Regions from separate parts of the Homo sapiens genome. Here all the other regions are linked to region 2. The links are contacts of gene promoters, found by promoter capture Hi-C in human tissues and cell types (Jung and others, 2019). All regions are on one chromosome and are shown on one strand. The core of a region is centred on a gene start or on the middle of the fragment in contact, and the rest is flanking DNA. Distances in the headings are between cores, read along the strand shown. Region 1 overlaps PCDH7 (protocadherin 7). Region 2 holds the start of PCDH7 (protocadherin 7). Region 3 overlaps PCDH7 (protocadherin 7).

Region 1 (3,407 bases), core at 589-3,088, 270 kb before region 2:
TCTCCCTCTCTCTTTTCACTGAAATTTATACATTTTTTGGTGGGGAAGGGTGTCAGATAATCAGTGATATGTTGGAAATATACAACATAACCCCTATTCAATCATTAGCTACTCCTCTGTTTCACTTCCTTAGCTTGGTTATGAATCTCTAACTCATTGAGTGTTAGACCAGTGACCTCCAAAACATTGCCTAAAAGTAGGCAAAAGGAGAGGTTAGAGCTCACAAGGGTTCTGTGCCTCTACTTTGTAAGTACTGCCCATTCTTTTAGTACCTGCAGTTCCTTGGAATGGTGCGGCACCTGTAAAAGGTTAATGAGCATAGAGACTTTCAGGCATAATGCAAATTACAGACACTACACAGACATTTCATCAAGAAACAGACAAGCAACATGCACGCTGCAGGCACACTACAGGTGGCCGATATTACTGCAGCTCCATCACTGGGATATCTTACAGATTATATAGCTATATGTACTAGTGAGATGTATATATTTGGAGAGATACCATTCATAAGTACTATTTAAAAAGAGAAAGAGAAAAAATTGTTTTTCAACAGGTTTTAGGAGTACCTATCTTAGCTTGTTTTGCAGTCAGATATTTACACCATTCTTGTGACAGATCATGAGAAATCTCTTCAACTTTATCAAATAAATCAAATAATCTAAGAAACAAGTTTCTGGAAAAAAAAAACTGTGATTTGATTCTGTCCAAAAAGTTTTGCATTCACAATTCAGGCACCTTGTCTTCACATAAAACATTTTTAATGCTAAAAATAAATTGTGGTCTAAATCATCTACAACAAATATTTTAAGTAGATTTGAAGTCTCTGACCTGTTAAAAAGGAAGGTGAGGACTTTTTGATGAACTTTCAATTAAAAAAGAGAAATCAAGCTGTCAGTTTTTCTAAAAATCTTGAATGATTTGCCTTCAAAATCACATTCATTGTTCTATAAGAATCATCAGGCATTAATGTACATGCATTAATACTACCATCATTGCACAGGGCCTGCAAAGAAAGAGTTCTTCCATTCCCAGTTTCATTTAAAAAATAATCTCTTGTTATTTTTGTAACACTAAACACTAATACAAAAGTAATCAAATTAGCATTAGCAGTTCATGTTGCAAACTTCAATTTGTATTGCTACAACATCAAAGTAAAAATATTTGCATATCAAAAGTAAAAGAGGTGGGATTTAAATTGATTTAGTGTCTTAAACAAAACTAACTCGGCCTTGATGATAACTTAAATGATAAATAGTTCACAAATATAGAAATTGAATATATTTATATTTCTTGTTTCAACAATCCAAGGCCTGTGTACTAAATGCTAATGAAATATGAATATTAGAAAAAATGGAATATGACAGTGCATATGGAAAATGTTGGGCTTCTCATAAACTGAGAATTCTGTTTAATTCAGACTATAGTGTTTACAACTGTTTATAACTAAGAGTATGTAGGTGACTATTCTGTCTACCCATCTATCTAACTAATATATTACAATATTCTGAGTCTAATTATTCTCAGTAATTCATCATACAGAAAAATGTAATGGAGTTGATACACTTGTGGGCAGAAACATGCCAAAATAATGTGTTTTCTGCAGTATGCATCCCTCATTTCCTATCACATGGTACTATCGTGCAGTTTCTGCCTACCATGATGTCTAACGTTTTCATATTCCTTTCTCACGTGGTGATTCAGATGGCCAAACTGAATAAAACACACAATTTTTACAAATGAGTATTTTTATGCAACTCATGTCTGTGTGCTTTCTAGGGAACAGCATGTTTTCACAGATGCAAATCTGGCCTTTAAAATAACTTATATTCTTGCCTTAGCTCAGTCTCATCTTGACAGTGACCTGGTGAGTGACCACCATTTGCAGTACAATACCCTCCCTAGAAATTAAATGTCCCCTAATATACTTCTAGGGTTCTTTCCTCCTTGGCACACACTCCTAAATTGCCCTAATAAGAAAAGTATTTCTTAGGTTTCATTAGTATGACTATGCACCAATATTTTATTTCGTTGTTTCATATTCCAACTAATATTTAAAAATAAAAATATTCTTATGGTACTATTATGTCTCAAAATATTTCCAAAAATATATCAGAAATAAATGTATTCACATTTATTTTAATTCTATATAGGCCCCTAGAAAAAAGAAAACTGATTTTTTTTGGAGATAAGTTCTCACTATGTTCCCCAGGCTGGACTAGAACTTCTGGATTCAAGCGTTCCTCCTGCCTCAGCCACCTGAGAAGCAGAGAATACAGGTGAGAAAAATACTATTATACAAGCCATTTTCATGATTTAAAATTATGTAAAATAATTCAAGAATTACTAATGGCAAAACTTCCCAGAGATACTATGAATAATATCCACCTCATTTTATAGCTATTAAATGAGGTTCATGGAGCCAACTTGACGTCTGTACTTAGAAGCTTTTGAGGCAGTCGCTGGGTGTCCTTACAAAAAAGACATACCAGTAATATGTAAATAAGAAAAAAAAAAGATTTTCAAGTAAAAACCTGGTATAAAATAGATATGGATTATTACTTTTTCCTAACCTTCTTACTTAGGTGATCTGTAAATTAATTACATGATATACTTGGATTAAGTTTTGTTTTTGTTGTTGTTTGTTTAATTTTAAGAAGATTTTGGAGTAGTGTAGAAGAATAATATGTATTAGCTTTCTCATCATAAAATCATAAAGGAATGGACTAGAAAAAGGACCAATTTCTCTAATTTATGATCTATGAATACTGTGATTTCCCTGTAGGTGTAAAATGTCACACTGTATTGTAGAATGTTATGCCCAAAGATAAAGATACTATCTTTCTTATTTTTTTTTGAGACGGAATCTCGCTCTGTCGTCAGGCTGGAGTGCAGTGGCGTGATCTCGGCTCACTGCAACCTCCGCCTCCCAGGTTCAAGTGATTCTTCTGCCTCAGCCTCCTGAGTAGCTGGGACTACAGGCGCCCACCACCACACTCAGCTAATTTTTGTATTTTTAGTAGAGACGGGATGTCACCATGTTGACCAGGATCGTCTCAATCTCTTGACTTCGTGATCCGCCCACCTCGGCCTCCCAAAGTGCTGGGATTACAGGCATGAGCCACCGCGACCGGCCAATAAAGACATTTTCAAACGGATTCTGATTATAATAAAACAGTTTTAAATTTCAGATAAGAAAAATCAAATTGTGCAAAGATCACCTTTGTCATTGTTCAACCATTTCTTCATAATGATATTATAAGGTCATTAGACTTTTCTTGGTGGGAGGAGGTGAAACCAGGATTATCTACACGTCTCTGACTGGTTTGGCTTTTCAGATTTGCTACAATATCTATATAATAGTGAATCATTTTATGCTTATGTAGAAATAGGTGGGTTTTTTCCTT
Region 2 (3,629 bases), core at 507-3,006:
GCCGCCGCCGCCCTCTGATGCGTCCAGCCGCCGCTTGGAGCCTCCCGAGCCGCCGCCGCTCGCGCCGTTCCCGCCGCCCCCGGGGTAGGGGGCGCTGTCGGCCGCCCCGGCGCGCCGGCTCTCGCCGCCGCTGCCGCCGCCTCCGGGCTCCTGGAGCAGCTCGTAGCGCTCGATGCCGTTGCGGCCGAAGTCGCGGTCGGTGGCTGTGGGCAGCAGGTAAAGTGTGCCCACCGGCCGATTCTCCTCCACCGTGAGCGTGAGCACGGGCGACGGGAAGGTGGGCGTGTTGTCGTTGATGTCAAGCACGATGACCTGACCCTCAAACAGGTCCACCCAGCTCTGCGAGGGCCCGATCACCGACACCTCGAAGTCCAGGAAGCACTCGTTCTCGTCGAAGATCATCTGACACTGGGGCAGCTTCTCGCGGTCGATGCGCCGCTCGCTCGTGCTCAGCTCGCCAGTGAGGTTGTCGATCTTCAGGTACTCGGAACCGGACTCCAGGCTGAAAGTCACCTCACCCGATCCGGTCACGATGCCCAGGTCTGAAGCCACGTTGCCGATGCGGACGTCGGCGGGGCCCTCCTCGGCCAGCCGGTACCGGAGGAGCTGCTTGGCGGCCGCCAGGCTGAGCGAGAGCGGCAGGAGGAGGCAGCAGCCCAAGCACCAGCCGCGCGCCCATCCCGCGGTCCGCATCCTCAGCATCTTCTCCTGCTGCTGCTGCTACTGCTCCTTCTAACCACAGCCCCCTCGGCGCCCCCCTCCTCCGGGGCCGGCCGCCTGCCCTCCCCCGAGTCCTCTCCCCTCTCCCGGAAAGGAAGGAGCGAGAGGGAGGGGAGGGAGGGGGCAAAAGCGGCGTGGAGAGTTGGCCGGGAATGGGGGTGGGAGGGCAGCGATAGATGCTTCTTTTTTTCCTCCTGCTTCTTCCGAAAGTTATTGTTTCATAATTCATGCAATGGGTGCTAATCGCCCGCTCGCCTGCCGCCGTTCAGTCGCAGTACTCACAGTTCACGGGACACTGCGCGCCGCGGGTTCGGCGCTCCCCCAACCCAGAGTCATCCCCTCAGCGGGCGGAGAATCCCCGGCTCTAGTCCCCGCTCTGTCGGAAGGGGCCAGAACCGCTCCGGCAGACGGGCAGTGGGGCTGGGAAGAGGTGGGGAATGAGCCTGCAGCCTCCCCCGCCTGCCAGCCCGCTGGTCTTTGCTGCTACTCGAGTTGAGTCCAATTCACGTTCCAGGCACTCACTCCAAACCCAGGCTCTGCTCCGGCTCCGGCCACCCAGACAAACGTGAGTCGCTTCCTGCACCAGGCGCTGGGGCCAGCAACAAGCCAGTCTCAACTCCGACTCTGCTCATGCAGCGGGGGAGCCAGTCAACAGATCGAGAATGAAAAATCCCCCGGCACGTCGCTTCGGGCACGGTGCAGGGGAGACTACTCGCGTCACAGAGCGGTCAGTGTCAGGGTCCCCCCGGCGCGCCAAAGAGAAGCCCGAGCCATCTTCAGAGACGCCCAGAGTCAGTCCCTTCTCACCCCGGAGAGCGCGGGTTTCTCTTTTTTCTTAACAACTCTGCGCAAGGTCATTAGTCACGAAGCAGCCGCCTGAAACCGCAGCAGCCTTTCGCCCACGGGGGCGAAGGCTGAGCAGTGCGCACCGTGCGGTGCCCAAGTTTGGGTTCGCAGCCGCAGAGTCCGTGCCTTTTCTCACCTGCATTCGGCCCGCATGTCGGAGCAGTGGGATCTGCAGCGCTGTGCGCGATTCAGGGAGGAGATTGCAGCCTCTCTCTCCCCGCTCTCTCTCGATCCCTCCCCTCCCTCCCTCCCTTTCTCTCTCCTCCCTCCTCTCTCTCCTCCCTCCTCTCCTTTCCCCTTTCCCCCTCTCCCACTCGCTCTCTTGCACGCTCTCTCTCCTTCCCAATGCAGGGAACTCAAGCTGAACTTGATCCCTTTGCAGTTCAAAGGTGAGCAAACCAGGCTCGGAGCACAGGCGACGTTAGCCGGCGAAAGCGCACGGCCGGGCGTCCCCAACGGCAATTAACAAAGATGCCCAATTCTGTCTGGATTTCCGAAGAAAAGCCAAAGGCTTTCGGGCGGGGGTGGAGGGGGAGGTGGAGTCAGAGACAGCTGCCAAGTAGCTTAAAAAAAAAAATCCAGTTTGCCAAGGGGAGAAAAAGTGTCAGTCGGTTGTGGCCTCGGAAGTGCCCTGGCACGGCTGGTGAATTCCGCAGTTGTCTCGTCCCTTTTCGCGTCTGGGAGAGTCTGGTGCGGGCGCTCCCGCCGCCCCTCGGGCTGCAGCGGCTCGGAGACACTGAACCGCTAGTGGGAATCTCCCGTTCGCTACCCGCGAGCAGGAAACCCGCAAGTTGCCCAAAGTGGTGGTTGCTGCTGGGTGCTCGCTCGCTCACGGATCAGGCTTGTCCCTGACGCTGCTGCTGCAGCGGCGGCGGCAGTAGCAGCCGAGCCGCCGAAACTACACACTAGGAGAGAGCGAGGGAGGAGGGCCCGGGATAAGGAGGCGGGAGGGAGCGTCAGCCAGCCGCCGCGCTCGGGAAAGCCCAGCCTCAGCTCCAGGGGCCGCTCAAAGTGTGCCCAATCCCAGCCAGTCCTCTTTAAGCCAAAGCCCAGTCCCCCTCCCTAGCGAGTACCGCCGTCTTCTCTGGGGGACTTGTTTTCCCTCCCTCGGGCTGGTAAATTTCCTCCTCCCTTGACTAATGCCCAGTTCACGCGTGAGAGCTTTCGGAGCTGGTGTCAGGATAGGTTTCTCCTTCTCCCTCCCTCTCAGACGACGTCCTCCTCCCCCCGGAAAGTGTCTCCGGTTCGCGATTTAGGATCTTGGTTAGGACATGGTTATCGGGGTCCTGGGGAACCTACGAGCGCCCAGAAAGCCACTCTGTTCTGAAAAACCATGACGGGCTGCAGTAGTGAAGAGAGAACATCAAACTCCAGAGAGCTGGAGAAAGATCCTTTTTTGGGAGCTCAGACTTTGGATGGTTGCGGGGGGCAGGGGCGGCGGTGGGTGGAGGGTGAAGGATGTCTGTCTTTGTTTAAATGCTTGACATTCCTGTCGTCGTGCTTGCTTGCGGGGGTAGACCGTGTGTGCGCGCCTGGGGAATAAACACATGTTGGAAACCTCGATATTATTTTCTGAGCAGAAACCTGCAGCCTTTAGTAACTGGCAAAGTGTAGCGTCACCTATCTGGATAAAAGGGAAATAAACTTTAATGGCAACTTTGTGTACCAAAGTGTCCCCAGCTTTCCCATCTCTCCTTTTGACTTTGTGTCCCTTGACTGTCCCTATTTCCTGAAGCAAGGCTTCTCCAATTTTCATTCACGACCACCGCAGCCGGCCTCATCAGATCTCAGGTCTGGTTGTGTTTTTGAACTGAGCCATTTACTCATTTATTTCAGTGGCTGTAAACGAAGAGGCCCGGCTAGGATTAAGACGACTGAGACGGACTGTAGGTATTTGGGGAGAATTTTTACCATCTCGAAAGAGAGAAAGGGCCGCTGCTGGGATTTGCTTAGTCTTCAGCTCGCCTGACGTATCCATACACATTTAAGGGCCTCCCCTCAAAGAAAAATTTAAAGCCGAAAAAATAAAATCTGTCCAGTGTGGGTATTCTTTACGAGACCTG
Region 3 (3,479 bases), core at 397-2,896, 350 kb before region 2:
GGAACTACTATTATATATGACATATATGCTTCTTTTGATATTATCATATTCAGTGGACTTAGGTAGATGCCATAGTCTTGTTCAGAAGTCTTTCATGTAGTCACTAAACTGCACATGACCTGCTATGAGTTATTATCCCTTTAATTATTCTGTTTTCCTTGAAATTAAGAGGTTTATATTAGACTAAGTAATGATGAGTCAGTTGAGCTAATAGTATAGCAGATGGATTCTTCAGTTCTTTGTAATGATTGACACATTATAATCTCTACTTGGTCTAAGATATCATCATAACTTAGAAGATATTAAATATCAGTGGGTTGAGTATACAGCAATCTATTTTGTTTATTTATGTGTGCTATAAATCAATGGTTCTAACATTCAAATAAGATCTTTTTGCTTCTCTGCTCAGATGCTTTCAATGATGTAATGCTATGTAGCAAATCTAATCCCCTAAGCACAGTAATCAAGGCCTTCTACCCCAAAAAACTATGCCCTTTTATACCTGTTTGCATTTACAAATACTTATTTCACTTGCTTTGACTGTTCATCTCACACTCTCCATCTACTATAATATTTACATACTCTTCAGGATCTAGGCCACATTCAGCTTCTCTGTTAATTTTTTCCTGATTCTCTCAAGTAGATTTAGCTGGGACATGTGTTTTACTTCCATGATATTCTGTGAAAGCTCCAACTTGAGAATTTATTATACTGCCTTTTGATTATCTGTTTTTCCTTCCATACTCCGCACTAAAGAATGACCCCTACACAGCTGCTATATTTTATTCATTTCTGAACGTTTTTCTAGTGTTACACTCACCCATTGATTTCATTGAGTTCTTACAACCCATTGCAGGAACTCCATGAACTCAATGAATGAGTGAATTAATGGGTGAATATGTCAGCCATCATTCCATTCTTATATTTGACACATTCCAATAATGTGATGTGAGTAATGTGATTGAGATAACACAACTCTGTGAAACGTTCTCGGACTTCTGGCCTTCATATCTTCATACATGGTGTTCCTCACTCTTAAAGTTGCCCCCTTCCACCAGCAACTCTACATGATCTTACACATCTTCCAATTTCTAAAATGGTGACTCCTCCAAGAAGCTTTTATTGGCACCTAGTTCAAAAGCCTGCTTCTTTCCTCTGTATTTATGCTCACATTGTCAATGCCTCCTTTTTTAAAAAAAATTATCTCTTTCCACATTATGTTTGCTTATATTAAAGCATAATTATTCATGCATGAGTCTTTACACATCTATACATTTACAGGCTCTTTAAGTGAGACATATATGATCTTATTTATACCACTCTCCTCTAGATATATGCATGACTACATATCTCAGGGTGATGCAACTGCAGTGCTCAACAGAATGACTGATGTAATTATAATTCTTTTCCTGTATGCATTTAAAAAAGATTTAACATATTATTTCTACCAAATATGATGAAACCCAGAAAAGCCCTTCATTGAATTGGTCATTTTTATTTGCCAAAATGATTGCCTTAGGGTTTCAATCAGTTCTATTTTTTTTCTTAGAGGTGTGCTAGTGTGCAGCCATGTGAGTGTTGTAGATCACTCCAACACTGTCTTCCAAAGAAAATTAACTTCATTACATGTCCAAGCTTAGAAAAGCGAAGACAGTAAACATGACTCATAGCTCTGATACTGGTTTAGTATAAGAGTAGTTATTTATACGAGCTAATATAAAAGTAATAGCAACTAAATAGTGTTCTCACCACCTTCAGAATAACCAGAAAAGCATGTATCCTGTCATTTGTATCTACCATTAATTAGAGAATTTCCTTAACACTGCAGGAAAAGCTTTCTCAATGCTGTATTCCTGAGTCTTTTTTGAAAAGAACAAAAGGAATAAACCTAAATGAAATGCGAGGGATCTCTGCCTGGGAGGATGATGGGAATATGATCTAACACAATCAGAGCAACCACTCTGCAGATGAACTATGGTGGGTGGGATAAATGCAATGAATTGAGCTTTCTCTGCTGACTTACCCCATTATTTTATCACTAATGAATTGATTTGCCAAACATCAAAAGCAAACAGAATAGAACTAAAATTTGCCTGCATTTACTAAAACCTTCAACTCTTTTCTGTAATTCCAAAGCATCATTATGATAGGGTGAGCTTGTCAAATATATGTTCAACGTTATTCAGTTTATGAAAGGCTGCCCCCTCTCCTGCAAAAAAAGCACACAACATTTCAACCAAAGATTTTTTTCTTAATTAAACACTGATTTTCTTTCATATGGATACAAAATAAATAAGCTTGTTTGTAAACAACAGACACACATGTACACAGTAAACATGATAGAATGACAAAAATATAGCTGTACAGAGACTATGGGTTTTTGGGTTTTGGGAGAATAACAGCCTCACGGTGAGTTAATACTAGGCATTCCCTCTATATATTTTTTCTCCACCAGAGAGTTTTAAAAAAGAATCTATTAAAGACTATTCTACCTGTGAATGAGCTTTGAATTACCTTTGCTTCTGTCAAAGACCATTTATCAACTTGACAGTGTCAGTCTCTAAAAGCAAATAAGGGCAAGAAGGGGCCCTGCACTCTTGCCTTGGCAGAATTAAGCTTTTTTCCACAAGGGAAAGGCATCCTAGAGACAGCTGTAGTATTTTATACAAACTCAGCTAAACACTGCATAATGTCTTTTTTGGATGGCCCTGTATAAATTGTGTTTGATATAATTCTGAATGCCACTACTTTGCAGCACTGCATTAACAAATACCTATATTTGTTCATCTTCATGAATCTAACATACTAAGTTGTAGAATATAAAAGTCTGGGACAAAAATTAATAAAACTTCCTCTATTTTCTACAAAGTGACTTCTGATAATGTATTCTTTTGATTGTTTTTATGAATGTTGTTATAGTCTTTGCAAAGTAACCTAAATATATAAAACAATTCTATATTTGGGAAGAAATATTTCCATAGGCTACAGTAATTTAAAAAATATGATTAGGTCTGAGTAAGTCTAATACAGTAATCATTTTGTTAACACAACTTATATATTTAGAGAATGGTTTGCTTGAGCAAATGTCTGCATATAAACATTCAGCATCTAGACACAAATGTCTGTGTTTTATTAGCCAATGTCCTTGAGAACATATCTATGTAACTTGAGCAACTCCCTTTTACTAATGGAGTAGAACATTCTAGAGGGAATTCTATTAAACAAAAAGTCAGTCGTATTATTGGATCTTGCTGGATCAGTGATGCTAAAAACATTACCCAGCCAAGTCTGAAAAGTATTCATTGTCAGATGTCCGTCTAAATAATTATGCCCATTTTGTTTCAGTGAAATATCTCAAAAATTACACTGTTGAATGAGCCTGTGTATTTGTCAATCGATAAATCCTACTATAGGTAAAGTGAACATTTGAGAATATCTAAGGTGGAAATATGAAGAATTTATTCTCGTACACACATGCA

Evidence for each region. Contacts are between HindIII fragments. The study calls those that stand out against the background at their distance.
Region 1: a fragment that was not itself captured here is called in contact with the fragment with the promoter of PCDH7 in region 2 in 1 of the 25 tissues and cell types used here (hippocampus).
Region 3: a contact is called between a fragment that was not itself captured here and the fragment with the promoter of PCDH7 in region 2, in 1 of the 25 tissues and cell types used here (aorta).

The regions. Positions count from the first base shown.
Region 1 is chr4:30,986,430-30,989,836 of GRCh38, reverse strand. All of the region lies in intron 2 of PCDH7 (protocadherin 7), which reads right to left. Among named protein-coding and RNA genes, the nearest start is that of LINC02497, 180 kb to the left of the region's middle. The HindIII fragment of the contact is 8,514 bases long and covers 1-3,407 here.
Region 2 is chr4:30,718,496-30,722,124 of GRCh38, reverse strand. It overlaps PCDH7 (protocadherin 7), which reads right to left and starts at 1,756. Exons shown (of 3, transcript NM_001173523.2): 1 at 1-1,756. The coding sequence starts at 702. LOC124900844 reads left to right here and starts at 3,004. Exons shown (of 1, transcript XM_047416545.1): 1 at 3,004-3,629. RefSeq lists an enhancer at 237-947. The HindIII fragment of the contact is 10,727 bases long and covers 1-3,629 here.
Region 3 is chr4:31,070,167-31,073,645 of GRCh38, reverse strand. All of the region lies in intron 2 of PCDH7 (protocadherin 7), which reads right to left. Among named protein-coding and RNA genes, the nearest start is that of LINC02497, 99 kb to the left of the region's middle. The HindIII fragment of the contact is 5,052 bases long and covers 1-3,479 here.